Regions from separate parts of the Homo sapiens genome. Here region 1 is linked to region 2. The links are contacts of gene promoters, found by promoter capture Hi-C in blood cells and fetal thymus (Javierre and others, 2016). All regions are on one chromosome and are shown on one strand. Each heading gives the region's core, a stretch centred on a gene start or on the middle of the fragment in contact. The rest is flanking DNA. Distances are from core to core; before and after follow the strand shown. Region 1 overlaps CSRNP1 (cysteine and serine rich nuclear protein 1). Region 2 holds the start of SLC25A38 (solute carrier family 25 member 38).

Evidence for each region. Contacts are between HindIII fragments. The CHiCAGO score rates a contact against its expected background, and 5 or more counts as called.
Region 1: a fragment that was not itself captured here is called in contact with the fragment with the promoter of SLC25A38 in region 2 in 2 of 17 cell types (fetal thymus and naive CD8 T cells); the score reaches 7.3 in fetal thymus.

Annotation. Positions count from the first base shown.
Region 1 is chr3:39,140,606-39,143,527 of GRCh38, forward strand. CSRNP1 (cysteine and serine rich nuclear protein 1) reads right to left here. Exons shown (of 5, transcript NM_033027.4): 5 at 1,250-2,922. The coding sequence ends at 2,450. Among named protein-coding and RNA genes, the nearest start is that of MIR6822, 3.9 kb to the left of the region's middle. The HindIII fragment of the contact is 8,062 bases long and covers 1-2,922 here.
Region 2 is chr3:39,381,355-39,384,632 of GRCh38, forward strand. SLC25A38 (solute carrier family 25 member 38) reads left to right here and starts at 2,016. Exons shown (of 7, transcript NM_017875.4): 1 at 2,016-2,439. The coding sequence starts at 2,371. It overlaps LOC105377644 (a long non-coding RNA gene), which reads right to left and starts at 2,971. Exons shown (of 3, transcript XR_007096252.1): 1 at 2,887-2,971; 2 at 1,599-1,690. RefSeq lists enhancers at 2,325-2,504, 2,525-2,624, 2,635-2,684, 3,155-3,224 and a silencer at 2,915-3,064. The HindIII fragment of the contact is 12,754 bases long and covers 1,126-3,278 here.

The DNA.
Region 1 (2,922 bases), core at 143-2,642, 240 kb before region 2:
CTACAGAAGGGTGTCTAGGCACCAGTGAAGAAGAGACAGGACAACTCAATGTACCAGGGTACTCTAACCTGAGAAGCCTATTCCTAGTTAAGCTGGTTACAGGGACATACTGCCGCACCATAGGCCAGACTCCAAACTATGAGTCCTCTAATGGCACTGATATGGCCATGTGGTCATGACCATGCATGTCCAGAGGCAAGAGACAGATACCTGAAGGGTGACAGGACAGGCAAAAAAAGGATTAAACATTCAGAGAAAGAATGGCAGAAACATGAAAATCAATGCAAGTTGCAAACATACACAGGACTTGCATGTTCCAGGCACTCTTTAAGGGCTTTGTAAATATGAAATAAACAAGTTTATGAGGTGAGTAGTGTTACTGTTTGCATGTAGTATTGAGGACACCCAGGCACAGAGGGAGTAATTTGCACAAATCACCTCACTAGGTAGCAGAAAATCTGAGATTCAAGCCCAGCATTCTGGCTCTGTGCTCTTACCAGTTAAGCCAAAGAGATGAGTGAGCCCAGTACAGACCAAGGCAGAGAATTAGAGCAAGGAGACCCAAATCAGTTCTCCTCTGGCGGTTCCTCCTTCCAGCTCTTGTACAAATCACTATCATTCCTAAGGGGGAAGTCAACCTTTCTCAGGCCCCCAGACTGGGGCTCCCCAGAGCAGGGTGTGGCCTACTCCTCTGGCCTGCTGCCCAGCTGAGCTGCCAGGGACAGGTCAGACAGGTCTGGCTGGTGCAGAGGGATGAGGTTCTGCAGCTTCCCCCTGCCCTTTCCGCTGCCCCCCTGCTCAAGTCCCCAGGGACCACAGCTGCTACGTAAGGCCATCACCAGGCCTTGACCAGGCACATGCCCTTACCCTGCCTCCACCCAGGTTGGTGAATTCACCCTCAGGACAAGGCCTCAGCTCAGTGTGGGTGTGTAGGAAGAAGGGTGCCCTTACCCATCCCCAGCAGATAGCCCCATGTCAGAAGACCCTGGTGCTGCTCCTCCCCACCACCCCAGGTCACCACTGTAGAGGAACAGGTTACTCCAAAGGAAAAACTGCTCTATCTGCCTGGCCAGCCTCTCAGCTGGCTTCCTGCCTCCAACTTGACTGGCTTGCCTGGAAAGAGGCCCAATATGCTGGGTGTGCCTACTCCTACCCCTCAACACAGCCTGTGTCCATACTCCCCTCTGCAGGGCTTGTCCCCCATCCCCTTTGCCCCTGCTTCCCACCCCACAAATACATACCACATTGCTAAAAATAAAGCCTCTTTATTGGTACCTGTAAGCTCAGGTACAAGGTGTTCCCACAAGCACACAGGCTGGCAAGGCCTCCTGGGCAAGGGGCAGGCCCAGAGCCTGCGTTTCTTGGCACAGACACAGAGAGAAATGGAATAAATTATAGTTCTGACACTCAGGGACAATGTAGAAATTATGATGCAAAATTAAACATTAGCAAACAAAGGGTATAAAAACCCTCAGGAGCCACCCCTCGCCAACTGGCCTCAGGGCATGGGCAGGTGGGCCACGCTGAAGTGCAGTGCCCAGAAAGCCCTGAGATAATAGTCTGGGGCATGGTTCGCGCCCCGAGGTAGGCCCTTTGCCCTCTCTGGGCTTCCTGTTTCCTCCTTCCCCCTCCTACATCCCTGGGCCTGGAATAAAGGCTGTGGCCTTTGGGAAGGGGGAAGATGGAACAGAGGGCAGGAAGTGGAGGGGGCAGGGTGGGGCAGAAGGGAGTTTTGGTCACAGCTGTTCAGCCCAGGCTCTCCCCCTGCCTAGATGATGTCCTTGGCCAGCACCTGCCCACAGAGCCATCTAGGAGCCAGGCAGCAGACATAGATCACAGAGCTCAAATCCACACCTAGTCTGCACCAAAGCCCAGGCAGGGCAAGGTGTAGGACTACAAGGCAAAAGGGGCTCTTGAGGGCCTGTGCCCACCCCACCCCTGGCATTACCCACCAGCCAAAGAAGTGCAACCAAAGCCTCCTCAATCTCCAAATAAATTATGGAAATAAATTATAGTCTTCACAGTCCAGTGGATTTAGCCACCCATGGGTCTAGGGCTCAGGGTGGCAGAAGCCACCTGATTTCAGCCCTGTCTCACCGTCTTTGGGCTAAGGAACATCACGCAAAGACCGAAAAGTGGTCTGCCAAGCTCCAGAGGAGCCACATTTTCTCCTCTTCCAGGCTCACGTTGTGGAGATAGAAGAGCAAGCTGTGGGTGTGGGGGGCCGGGCAGCTGAAAGGGGAAGCCCCCTCCCCCCAGTCCTCTCTTCAGCACAGAAAAGTTAAAACAAATAAATAAATCCAGAGAATTGTTTGAAAACCAGGAGTGTGCACATGGCACCTGTGGGTGAGCCAGCCAGTGGGAGACTGTTACGCAGACTCTGGGGAGCCCCATAATTACAAGAAAGCAGCAACAGGTCTCTTGGGGCTGGGAAAAGACATCCTGGTCCTCACACCGGCACAGGCTCCATTAGAGATGCTGGGACAGTGTCCTCAAACTGGCTGTCAATAAAGGGATCTAGGGCTTCGGCGGCTGGCTCGGAGAAGCCCATGAGGGACTCCAGGAAGCAACTGCTGGCATCCCCAGGTGGAGACAGGCCAGGCAGGGGGAAGTGAGGTGCCTCGATGTTGTCCAGGCTGTCAGACACCTTCTGTGATGTGTAGTGAGGCCCCAGACTATAATCTGGCAGAGCCTGGAGTAACTCAAAGGAGTCACAAGAAGACAAGCTGAGATCCACTGAGCTACTCCGGCCAGCGTCCATGCTGGGTGGCACTGAGGTGCCAGGAAGGCTGCCTTCCCTTGACCCTTCAAGGCCACCATTTAGGAAGCAGCTGGCATCCAGGTTGGCATTCTCATCCAGGACGCCTGATGTGAAGCTACAGCCAGAATAGCTGTGGGTCCAGCTGGCCAGGCCACCAGGGT
Region 2 (3,278 bases), core at 766-3,265:
GCCTTATGCTAATGACCTTGTTTTGAATTAAAGTCACAATGTTTTCTTTTTAAAAAAAAAAATTCACTCCTCCAACTTTGCCATTAAGTACTGCTCCAAACCCCCCACTCATCTGCCAATGGGTGATGCTCTTTCCCCATGATCATTATATATCTCTGCATCCCCACAAACATCCAGGGGAGGAGATGTGGGAAAAGAAGGGCCTGTGGGCTTTAGAGTTATGAGTAAGCATGGCAGGAGCAGATACAGAGGAGGGAAATCTGCCAGCTGCCACCCTTGAAAGCCAGCCCATTTCTTCTGAGCCCACAGCCAAGCAGGCATACCTGGAAGGGTGAGGGAGTGGAGGGCCGGCTTTCACTCTAGATCCCACCTGTGTTCCCACACCCAGAGTGGCCAAGAGCAGTCTCTAAAATACGCCAACCCATGATTTCTCAAAAGTAGGGATTCTTGTCTTATGGAATCAGTGCAGCGGGGGTGGGTGTCAGGGTGGAATTAGGTCTTCCTTTAAAAAGAAGTTTCAGTGCATAGTTATCAACATCACTACTGCACAAAGAAAAATAAGCCTTGCAGCTTAGAACAAAGGGTAGCAAAGTATTCAATCACCAGGCAGGTTTGTAATTTTGTTTCGTTTTGTTTTTTGAGATGGAGTCTCGCTCTGTCGCCCAGGCTGCAGTGCAGTGGCACGATCTCGGCCCACTGCAAGCTCCACTTCCTGGGTTCACGCCATTCTCCTGCTTCAGCCTCCCGAGTAGCTGGGACTACAGGCGCCTGCCACCACACCCGGCTATATTTTTAGCAGAGACGGGATTTCACCATGTTAGCCAGGATGGTCTCGATCTCCTGACCTCGTGATCGGCTCGCCTCGGCCTCCCAAAGTGCTGGGATTACAGGCGTGAGCCACCGCACCCGGCCTGTAATTTTTTTTTTTTTTTTAATGTTTATACTTTCCTTAATCCTTTCTGGGAATAACCTCCTCTGGGACCACTTTCCTTCCTGTTCTATGTACCTCAGAAGCACAGGAATGAAGCCTGAAAAAATATTATCTTGCTCCCTAAGTCACTTTCCTTTCTGATCTAGTTCTTGGGTGATGAATGAAGGTGGAAAGTAGCGAAGGTTGCTATGAAAAGCTTGGACTTTATTACCAGGGCCACTGCATTTTCAACAGGAGTGTCAGGATCCCAGCAGTAATGCTTTTCCATGGATCAGCCAGACAGGCATAAGGGGAAGTTGGGAGACCAAAAAAGCCATTGACAGATTCCAGGTGAGCAATAAACCAGAATTTTGACCAACTAGACCAGCGCTGTCCTACAGAAATGTAATGGGAGCCACATGTTAAAGTTTAAATGTTTTACTAGCCACATTTAAAAAGAAACACATGAAGTTATTATTATTTGTTTTAGAGACGGGGTCTTGCTTTGTCGTCCACGCTGGTCTCCAACTCCTTGGCTCCCTCAAGCAATCCTCCAGACTAGGCCTCACAAAGTGCTGAGATTACAGGCCTGGGCCACTGCCCCCGGCCTGAAGTTAATTTTAATATTTCACCTAACCCAATATATCCAAAATATCATTTCAACATATAAAAATTATTGAGATTTTACCTCACCAGTCTTAGACATCCAGCGTGTGGTTTATGCATACAGTACATATCAATTCCACACTAAATTTTCAGCATTTAAAGGGAAATATGGTCCTGAAAAAAAAACAACAAAACAAAAAAACGCCTGTTTAAGGAGAAAGCATTCCACACTGCTTGTTTTAATATAATTAAAATTAATGTATCAATTAATAAATCAATAGCCCACGTTGGCTAGTGGCTGCCTTACTGGGCAGACCAGGTCTGGATTGTAAATACGTTCAGACGTTCCACGCAAAAGCAAAGTTCCCTGCAGACGCTCCATTAAGTTCTGGGTGCAAGGAAGCGCGGATCCTTCAGTTCTGGGCGTTTTCACCAGGTGGCACTCAGAACACCCTCACGTGACAAGCGTCCCACCCGGAAGCGAAATCTCCCCTTCTACAGAGTTCCTCCGGCGCTTCCTCCACCCCGGGATACACAGAACCTCATCTCCTACGGTGCTGAAGCCTGCAGCAGGGCAGGATGGGCAGGAGAGCAGAGCCGCGGAGTCTGCGGCGCGGGTGAAGAGCGGCGCGTAATTCCCGCAGCAAGATTGTTCCGCGCCCGCAGCCCCTGGACTAGCAGGATCCGAACCCCGGCGGCTGCGTGCTTATAGGCGCAGACGTCAGAGAGCCCGCGGCTTAAAGCGCGTCGCCTGGCTAGCGCCACCCCCTAGCCTTCTTCAAGGCCTCCAGGGCTGGGCCCAAGCGCCCGTCGACGGCACCCTGGGCCCAGAGGACTCGCGGGCCTCATCTCCAATGATTCAGAACTCACGTCCGTCGCTGCTGCAACCCCAAGATGTCGGAGACACGGTGGAAACGCTTATGGTGAGGGCACTGCGGGGAAGGAAGGGCAGGGGTCCGAACCGCGGGCTCGGGCCGGAGAATTCGGGGCGTTGCTAAGGCTCGGCTACCCTTTTCCGCGCCCCAGGGTGCGCTCAGGATTTAGGATGCGGCGGGAGAGGAGTCTGACTAAGGGAATTGAGAAGGGGGCAGGGAGTGAGGAGAGGCCAGGAGCTGCAGGCCAGCCCTGGGGGCAGGCGCTGTAGGGCCGATGTCCCGGTAAAGGGCGGAATTGCCGGGGCCTGGACTGGACGCGTGCCGGGGAGTGTGCCCGCGCGGCCCCCACAAGGTGCGAGTAGGCTGCCAGGTGGAAGGGCACCCGGGCAGATTTGGGACGGTCACAAGGCCTGATAATAGCGCTGACGCTGAGAAGCCGTTGATGCCGCAGCGAGCTGGCCGGGTAGCGCTGTGCGCCCGCGGGCGGCGGCCTACCTGGAGGGGCCAGTCGTGGCGGCACCCTTCCAGCCTGTTGGGACGGCGCGTGGTCCCCCAGCGACGCCACGCCTCCTCCGGCGTTCGATTGGTCATCGTGCCCGGGCCGCCGGGCCGCTATTGGTGGAGGCGGAGGCGGGGCTGGCGGCGTGGTTGCCCGGTAGGTGGAGTCGGGGTGCAACCAGTCTTTAGACGCTAAAGGCCTGAGGCCACTGCAGCTGCCGCAGCTCTCCCTCTGAGGTCTTGCGCCCGAGGTAGGGGCGGCTTTTATTTTTTTTTTTAATCCTTAAAGGCGGAGACGGCGGCGGTGGCGACTTTACGTTGACGTCTTTGAAAACCTGCTTACCTTTTTCAGGGCTCTCCAGCCCTCGCCTCCAGATGTGAATTGGACT